2 separate regions of the Homo sapiens genome follow, and region 2 is linked to region 1. Evidence: promoter capture Hi-C in human tissues and cell types (Jung and others, 2019). All regions are on one chromosome and are shown on one strand. The core of a region is centred on a gene start or on the middle of the fragment in contact, and the rest is flanking DNA. Distances in the headings are between cores, read along the strand shown.

Region 1 (4,283 bases), core at 1,140-3,639:
ACATCTAAAATATTTTTAGCCTGGGGTGGTAGCTCGTGCCTGTAATCCTAGTACTTTGGGAAGCTGAGGCAGGAGGATGACTTGAGCCCAGGAATTCAAGACCAGCCTGGGTAACATAGTGAGACCCTGTCTCAATGTTTTAAAAAGAAGAAAAATGGTGGCTCACGCCTGTAATCCTAGCACTTTGGGAGGCCGAGGCGGGCGGATCATGAGGTCAGGAGATCAAGACCATCCTGGCTAACACGGTGAAACCCCGTCTCTACTAAAAATACAAAAAATTAGCCGGGCGTGGTGGCAGGTGCCTGTAGTCCCAGCTACTCGGGAGGCTGAGGCAGGAGAATGGACTGAACCCGGGAGGCGGAGCTTGCAGTGAGCCGAGATCACGCCACTGCACTCCGGCCTGGATGACAGAGCAAGACTCCATCTCAAAAAGAAAAAAAAAAAAAGAAGAAAAATAAAATATTTCTTAAATGCTGAATGTTGCTTTGTTCTATGAATAAGCAATATTTGTTCACAGATACATCAACTAATTAGGAATAAAATGAATTTCAAGTAATTCATGTTTAATTACTTATTAACATGTATTATATTTACATTATTTTTTATCAATTATGTACTAATAATGGCAATGATGAAATGAAGATCTCAGTGTCTTGCACTGGGCAGAGGCCTTTCTCATTCTCTGCCACTTGGGCCCCAGCATGGCTTCCCTAAGAGCTAGGAGCTCAGAGGGAGGGGCTGGGCAAGACAGAAGTCAGGATCTTTTTGTAACTTAATCTTGTAAGTGACATCCCATCATTTTTGTCTTCTTCTATTCATATTCTATTGTTAGAACCAAGCCTCTGGGTCCATCCCACACTCCGCGAGGAGGATTCAGAAGGTCGTGACTCCCAGGGGGTGGGATCCTAGAACACATCTTAGAAGCTGCCTACGACAACCGCTGATTTTTAAGTAACAGTTACATCCTCTACATCTATTTAGACTTAGGATGGAGAATTTTAGATGTCATCTTTAAAATGCATGAGAGGATGCAGTTTTCCAAAATTCTTTTAGAAACAGACAATTTGAAGGCCACTGAGCTTCAGGCTTCATTCAGCTGGGTCGTGTCTGCGGGCGGGGCTCATAGAGATGTCGCTGGGGGTCAGCGGGTGCTTCGGGCAGCGAAAAAACCCACCTCTCGAGGGCAGTGGAAAATACAGGGAAAAGCCACTTGAGTGTAGACTCCGTGCGTGTCAAGGCCAGGCAGAGGCGCACTTGATAGGCAAGGAAAAGCGGACGGTGGTGGTCTTGGGAGGAAGAGAGGAGAGGCGAATGGGCAGGAGCGTGTGGATGCACTAGGGCAGGACGGGCTCGAAGCAGGAACCTAGGATAGAGGCAGCGCGGGCCGGCTTGGGAGGGTCCTCCAGGGTCCGGAGAGGAGAGGACGCAGGCTGCACGCGTGCTAAGAAGGAGACTCATGAAATGTGTAATTCGCTGGCGACAGCTTCCGCGGCCGTGGAGTGAGCCTCTGGGAAGTAACGACTCTCTTAGGTGCGGCTGGGACACAGTCTCACAGACCAGGTAAGTTGCCTGCCCTCCAGGAACTCAAGTGTCCCCGAGTCCGAGCCAGGAGGCTGGAAGTGACTGCTGTCCCATCCTCCCTGGAGCCCGGAGCTGTCCTTGTCTTGAGAAAGAGAAAGCAAAGCCAAGGAAAGCAGAGCGAGCAGAACCAGGCAAAGGGGTGGGGACAATAAAATGGGATATGGCCCGCGCTTCCATCTACTCAGGAGGCAGAGGCAGGAGGATCGCTTGAGCCCGGGAGGCCGAAGCTGCAGTGAGCTGCGGTTGCACCACTGCACTCCAGCCTGGGAGACAGAGGGAGACCCTGTCTAAAAATAAAGTAAAATAAAAAACAAAAATAAAAGGGACAGAGACTAAGAAAACGGACTTCCTGAAATCCCAAGTTGGGATTTCACGTCCAGTGACCCACAAGAGAAGCAAGAAGTCTGAACAGGGCCAAGAATCAAGTGAGTGGGGGCGGAGGATTAAAATCGACAGTTGCTGCGGCACGGCCAGGGTGGAGGGTGCATGTGGGGCAGGCGAGGCTCCAGCTGGAGTTGACGCTAGCCCGACGCGGGTGCAACTGGAGGCGCGACGGGCCAGGCCCAGGAGCAGCGGGAGGAGCGCACCTGGGGCGCGCGGGCGGAGGAGGGCCGGGGAGGGACGCCGGAAGGACTGGGTAGGGACGCCCGGAGGACTGAGCGTAGGGCCGAGAGGAGGGGCGCAAGGAGGAACGGGGGGAGGGCCCTGTCTCACCCTAAACCCCTCCCCGTCCCAGACTAAACTCCTCCCCTCGGCCCGGCCCGCCCCTGGGCCCGGGCTGGAAGCCGGAAGCGAGCAAAGTGGAGCCGACTCGAACTCCACCGCGGAAAAGAAAGCCTCAGAACGTTCGTTCGCTGCGTCCCCAGCCGGGGCCGAGCCCTCCGCGACGCCAGCCGGGCCATGGGGGCCGCACGCAGCCCGCCGTCCGCTGTCCCGGGGCCCCTGCTGGGGCTGCTCCTGCTGCTCCTGGGCGTGCTGGCCCCGGGTGGCGCCTCCCTGCGACTCCTGGACCACCGGGCGCTGGTCTGCTCCCAGCCGGTGAGACTCGACGTGGGGAGCGGTAGCCGCCAGGATGCTGCGGACGCGGGGCAAGGTCGCGGAGGGCCGGACGGTCGGGACTACGCGCCCGGGCTGGGGAGGCAGGAAGTCCGCGCCGCGGGCTTAGAGGGGCTCAGAGCCTTGGGCACAGATATCGCGGCGCCTGGGGAGGACCCTCGGAGCGGTGGGAGTTGCGGTGTGGAATACGGGGGGGGTGGGTGGCACATCGCGCGGCGCGTGTTGCACAACCTGGCCCGCCGTCGTGACTGGAGGCGGGAGTGACACCTCCGCCCGGGCCGCGGAGTTCGGGGAAGGAGGGCGCGGCGCTGGGCCAGGCCGGAGGGGCGGCCAGGGCTGATAGAAAGGGGCTGTGGAGAAGGGGCCCGGGGAGGAGCCAGGACGGGTCTGGACCCAGCTCCACGCCTTGCGCCCCTCACGTACCCCGGCGGGGCACGGTCGGCCCTCGGGAGGCCCATCGCGCCCTCGGGAGCTTCCCTCAAGCCGTGCCCTTCATGCCGCCGACGGAGCCGGGCGAGCCCACGTCGTCCGTGCGGAAGGTGGAGTCCCTCACCCGCGGCCCCCAGAGGGACCCCGCTGTCGTAGAGCCACGCGGGGGCCGGAGCGCTGAGACGCGGCACCATGTTTCGGGGAGAGCTCTGCCGAGGGCGGCTGAGGGCCACCTCCCCAGAGGCGCGAAGCCCTGAGGATGGGCAGATGGTTCTTAAGACGGCGCCCTTCCCGCCACTCCCACCCCCGACTACCACCACCTGGGTCTGGGAACCCGGTGAGAGCGCAGTCGGAGGGTCGAACGTTTGTAGCTGTCAAGTCGTAGCCCCGCTGCGCCCACAGGAAGTGACCCACCCGCCTGCCGGGTAGTGGCCTTTCTGTGAGCCAGGACCATCTTAAGGAAAAAAACAAAAAAAGAGCAAAACGCCGTGCCCCTCCACAATATACTCTCCTCTTCCCCGCATCCCCGAGGGGATCTTTCCTCCCCTCCACCTCCACCTCCACCTCCACCGCTGACCCCAAGGAATAATGCTCAGTATCTGAGTCAGAGGATGTAAAACAAAGGGATATTTCTCCTTATGTAGTTTTATGGAGGATTTACCGAAAGAAGGTGGAGGGTGAGTGACTATGTCGCAGAAAAAAAAAAAAAGATGTTTTTATCGTGAATGATGTTGAGAAATGTCCTGTGACTTCCACTATTGGGCAAAGCAGGTCCCTCTGCCCTGCTAGTCCCTCCTGCAGGCTGTGTATGAAGCGTTCTGATATGGAGGGTTGGTGCGCCTGGGTTGACAGCCATTGGTCAGGTGCCTGCAGAGTACAGGGCGCCATACTGGGAACTGGAACTATAAATAAATACTCTGGGGACCCTAATATCCAGAGACCTAACCCATCTACGGGAGGAACAAGGCTTGAAGTTAGGGAACTGTCTAGCAAAGCTGCTTGCACAACTGCTAAGTGTACGGAATTCCAGGAAAAAGAAAAATTGCTTCCAGTTGGGGTGTCCTTCATGGAAAAGGCATTTGGGCAGCCCTGTGGGGGTAGCAGGAGCATTCCAGGTGGTGGAAAGGGCCTGAGCCAAGGTCCTTAAGTGGGACAGGGTACGGTGTGTGGCCGGAATGGAGGGTCTGTGTAATAGGACAGTGAGAAAAGATGCCAGA
Region 2 (4,714 bases), core at 1,426-3,925, 1.1 Mb after region 1:
TATTTAGATACAAGGTCTCATTTGTTGCCCAGGCTGGAGTGTAGTGGCACAATCATAGTTCAGTGCAGCCTCAAACTCCTGGCCTCAAGTGATCCTCCTCCTTCACCCTTCTCAGTATTTGGGGCCACAGGCGTGCACCACTATGACCATCTAAATTTTTTTTTAGAGATGGGGTCTCAGTATGTTGCCCGGGCTAGTCTTGAACTCCTGGGCTCAAGTGATCCTCCCACCTCAGCCTCCCAAACTGCTGGGATTACAGGCCTGAGCCACCATGCCAGGCCTCATCTCTATATCTTTAGGGTTAGTCACTGGCACCTTAATTTGTTCATTTGGTGATGTCATGTTTCTCTGATTGACCTTGATCCTTATGGCTGTGTGTCAATGTCTGTGCATTGACATAGGTACCTAAGCCAGTCTTCATTGCCTGGCTTTGTTTGGGCTCGTCTTTCATCAGGAAACCCATAGGAGATTAGGGAGAGGCTGATTGGTCAGGACCCTAAGCCCATGACTGCTTCAGCTGTTGTAGTGCTGGGGGGTGCTCTAAGCCCAGCATCACTGTGGTTGGAATTCTTTGGCCACTGAGGCTGACACAGCCCTGGGTTATGCCTGAAGGCCATAGCTGCCGAGACTGGCACAGCACTGGGGCACGCCCAAGACCCACAGCTGTGATGGCGTGCTTGCTGCTGCTGAAGTTATTCAGGGCCCAGGGCCACTGTAGTTGTCAGGTAGTGATGTGGGCCAGATCGCCAGTCCCTGTTACTGGGGCTGTGGGTTCTCATCTGGCACTAGGGTGGGGTGAGATCTGCCTGTGGGTACTGGTCTAGTATCAGGGTGATGAGGCTCTGCCCAGTACTGGGTTTTACTGTAGTGAGCCTAGTCCTGGTGACAGGTGACAGCGTGCTGGCAGCCATCACAGCCCTCGCTCGCTCTCGGTGCCTCCTCGGCCTTGGCGCCCACTCTGGCCACGCTTGAGGAGCCCTTCAGCCCACCGCTGCACTGTGGGAGCCCCTTCCTGGGCTGGCCGAGGCTGGAGTGGGCTCCCTTAGCTTGCGGGGAGGTGTGGAGGGAGAGGCAGGGGCGGGAACTGGGGCTGCACGCGGTGCTTGTGGGCCAGCGCGAGTTCCGAGTGGGCGTGGGCTCGGCGGGCCCGCACTCGGAGCGGCCAGCCGGCCGGCCTGCAAGCCCCAGGCAGTAAGGGGCTTAGCACTTGGGCCAGCAGCTGCTGTGCTCGATTTCTCGCCGGGCCTTAGCTGCCTCCTGGCAGGGCAGGGCTCGGGACCTGTAGCCCGCCATGCCTGAGCCTCCCCACCCCGCAGCCATGGGCTCCTGTGCGGACCAAGCCTCCCCGACCAGCGCCGCTCCCGGCTCCACGCCGCCGAGTCCCACCGACCACCCAAGGGCTGAGGAGTGCGGGCGCACGGCGCGGGACTGGCAGGCAGCTCCACCTGCGGCCCAGGTGTGGGATCCACTGGGTGAAGCCAGCTGGGCTCCTGAGTCTGGTGGGGACTTGGAGAATCTTTATGTCTAGCTAAGGGATTGTAAATATACCAATCGGCACTCTGTATCTAGCTCAAGGTTTGTAAACACACCAATCAGCACCCTGTGTCTAGCTCAGGGTTTGTGAATGCACCAGTCGACCCTCTGAATCTAGCTACTCTGGTGGGGACTTGGAGAACCTTTGTGTCCACACTCTGTATCTAGCTAATCTAGTGGGGACGTGGAGACGTTTTGTGTCTAGCTCAGGGATTGTAAACACACCCATCAGCACCCTGTCAAAACGGACCAATCAGCTCTCTGTAAAACAGACCAATTGGCTGTCTATAAAATGGACCAATCAGCAGGATGTGGGTGGGGCCAGATAAGAGAATAAAAGCAGGCTGCCCGAGCCAGCAGTGGCAACCTGGTCAGGTTTCCTTCCATGCTGTGGAAGCTTTGTTGTTTCATTCTTTGCAGTAAGTCTTGCTACTGCTCACTCTTTGGGTCCACACTGCCTTTATGAACTGTAACACTCACCGCGAAGGTCTGTAGCTTCACTCCTGAAGCCAGCAAGACCACAAACCAACCAGGAGGGACTAACAACTCCAGACGCGCTGCCTTAAGAGCTGTAACACTCACCGTGAAGGTCCGCAGCTTCGCTCCTGAAGCCAGCGACACCACGAACCCACCGGGAGGAACGGACATCTCCAGATGCGCCGTATTAGGAGCTGTAACACTCACCGCGAAGGTCTGCAGCTTCACTCCTGAGCTAGCGAGACCACAAACCCACCAGAAGGAAGAAACTCCGAACACATCCGAACATCAGAAGGAATAAACTGCGGACATGCCCCCTTTAAGAACTGTAACACTCACTGCGAGGGTCCACGGCTTCATTCTTGAAGTCAGTGAGACCAAGCACCCACCAATTCCGGACACACTGGGTTCCAAGGCGAAGTACTCCACTTACCTCTTCTTCCCCCAAGCAAACAGTGTCTCTCTTCACACAGCTGTGCTGGGTTGGGGGAGGGTACACGGGTACCCCTATGGCCACTGAGGCTGAGACAATATTGAGTCACACCCCCAGAATTCATGCCATGAGACCAGCCCAGCACCAGGATGTGCCTAAGGCCGACAGGTAGCTACAGCCTGCCTGCAGCTAAGGTTTATCTGACTGCTGCAGCTGGCCGGCAGTGTTGCGGGCCAGAACACGAGGCTGTTCTGCCAGGGCCGCAGGTCCCCTTGGGTGTTGGGCGGGTTGAGAGGCTTCCCCTGTATGCCAGCCTGGCATCAGGGGCTGAGAGTTCTTGCTTAGTGCTGGCTTTTTACTGAAGTGGGCCTGGTCCTGGGTTGTAAAGCAAAGTCCTATGCGCGCTTCCCTGTCCTTTCCCAAGAGGGCGCTCCCGGTTAGGATTTGGCAGTCGGCTCTGAGGATGAATGGAAACGCCTGGGACCCAGGTTAGGGGATGTGTAGCCTAGCTGTCATTTCCAGCCTAGAGCTCTATGAGTCAGTCTCCCCAAACATTTATCTCCCTCTAAGACCTGCTCTTTGGCATCAGAACGGATTACATGAATACACATTCCTCCTTCTCTAATTCTTGCCTACCCGCATTGTATTTTCACAGAGATTCCATCGTGCCTGGCTCACATAAGCGCTTCCTGGAAGTGAAGTCGTGCTGTCCTGAACGCGGGCCAGGCAGCTGCGGCCTGGGGGTTTTGGAGTGATCACGAATGAGCAAGGCGTTTGGGCTCCTGAGGCAAATCTGTCAGTCCATCCTGGCTGAGTCCTCGCAGTCCCCGGCAGATCTTGAAGAAAAGAAGGAAGAAGACAGCAACATGAAGAGAGAGCAGCCCAGAGAGCGTCCCAGGGCCTGGGACTACCCTCATGGTCATTAGACCCCTCCCGTTTTCCTCTTCTTGACTGCATGTAAATGTTCGGCTCACCCCCTCCGCTCTGAAGCCGCAGAGCTTTGTATTCGACGGCTCATGCTTTCCTGTGCCTGAGTTTCTGCATCTTTTAGATGGGGATACAGCCTGGGCCATAGTGAAACCCTATCTGTAAAAAACAAAAACAAGGTCGGGCGCGGTGGCTCATGCCTGTAATCCCAGCAGTTTGGGAGGCCGTGGCAAGTGGATCATGAGGTCGGGAGTTTAAGACCAGCCTGGCCAAAATGGTGAAACCCCGTCTCTACTAAAAATACAAAAATTAGCTGGGCGCAGTGGCAGGTGCCTGTAATCCCAGCTACTTAGGTGGCTGAGGCAGGAGAATTGCTTGAACCTGGGCGGCAGAGGTTGCAGTGAGCTGAGATCACGCCACTGCACTCCAGCCTGGGTGACAGAGTGAGACTCTGTCTCAAACAAACAAACAAACAAATGGGGGTAATAATAGTACCAAGCACATAGGGTTGTTGGGAGGATTAAATGGGGTCATCTGTGGAAACTGCTTTAAGCCAGTGCTGGGATTCTAGAGGCACTTAGCATTAGTTCCCATCTTTACTGCTACCTTTGTATGGGTCTGTCTGGAAGCAATGTGCTCCTGATAGTCTGGGAGTAGAAATCTGTGCTCACCTGTGACCCCAGGTTGTTACTTTCTTACTGTCCTATCTTGTAAGCCAAAGCCCTTTCCCCAAGAATCCTGAGATTAGTGGTACTTCCCTTGTGGGGTCTGCTGAGCCTAAGGTTGGGTTGGAAAAGAGGAGGTTGGTTGCTAGGGGTCAGACAAATGTTATCTTTTGTTTTTCTCGTATTCTTATAAGTTCCTTCTGCCTTTCAGCCTCTCAGGGTGACACTGGATTAGGTGAATCTTCCCCAAAGTAACCTTCTGATTTATTTCCTGCCTCCCTGTAGTGGGAACTGGGCAGAGACCTCTCCGCTGGACTCCAACATAGACATACTGGGGAGTCCCTCTTATCCCTGAGCCCCACAGATGCACATTTGGACTTAGCTCCGTGGAGAACGATTTGAATGAAAGGAAGCCATATTCTCAGTTATGCTTTCTCTAATGTTTTTTTTTCTCTCCCAACAATTGCTCATACTACTCATTTGGCAGTGAGTAATATATACTTTTGGTGACATCTCACTTTTCCTAATGGACTATATTAAAACTTTTCTTGTTATCGAACTTTTTGTGTGTGTGTGTGTGAGATGGAGTTTTGCTTTGTCGCCTAGGCTGGAGTGCAGTGGCACGATCTTGGCTCACTGCAACATCTGCCTGCCAGGTTCAAGCAGTTCTCCTTCCTCA

The links. Contacts are between HindIII fragments. The study calls those that stand out against the background at their distance.
Region 2: a fragment that was not itself captured here is called in contact with the fragment with the promoter of IL17RA in region 1 in 1 of the 25 tissues and cell types used here (lymphoblastoid cells).

What each region holds. Positions count from the first base shown.
Region 1 is chr22:17,082,611-17,086,893 of GRCh38, forward strand. IL17RA (interleukin 17 receptor A) reads left to right here and starts at 2,390. Exons shown (of 13, transcript NM_014339.7): 1 at 2,390-2,619. The coding sequence starts at 2,482. RefSeq lists an enhancer at 1,450-1,619 and silencers at 2,173-2,392, 2,413-2,532, 2,783-2,882, 2,923-3,172. The HindIII fragment of the contact is 17,220 bases long and covers 1-4,283 here.
Region 2 is chr22:18,154,460-18,159,173 of GRCh38, forward strand. It overlaps USP18 (ubiquitin specific peptidase 18), which reads left to right. Exons shown (of 11, transcript NM_017414.4): 2 at 3,099-3,361. The coding sequence starts at 3,205. Among named protein-coding and RNA genes, the nearest start is that of USP18, 6.6 kb to the left of the region's middle. RefSeq lists an enhancer at 863-1,364. The HindIII fragment of the contact is 4,107 bases long and covers 623-4,714 here.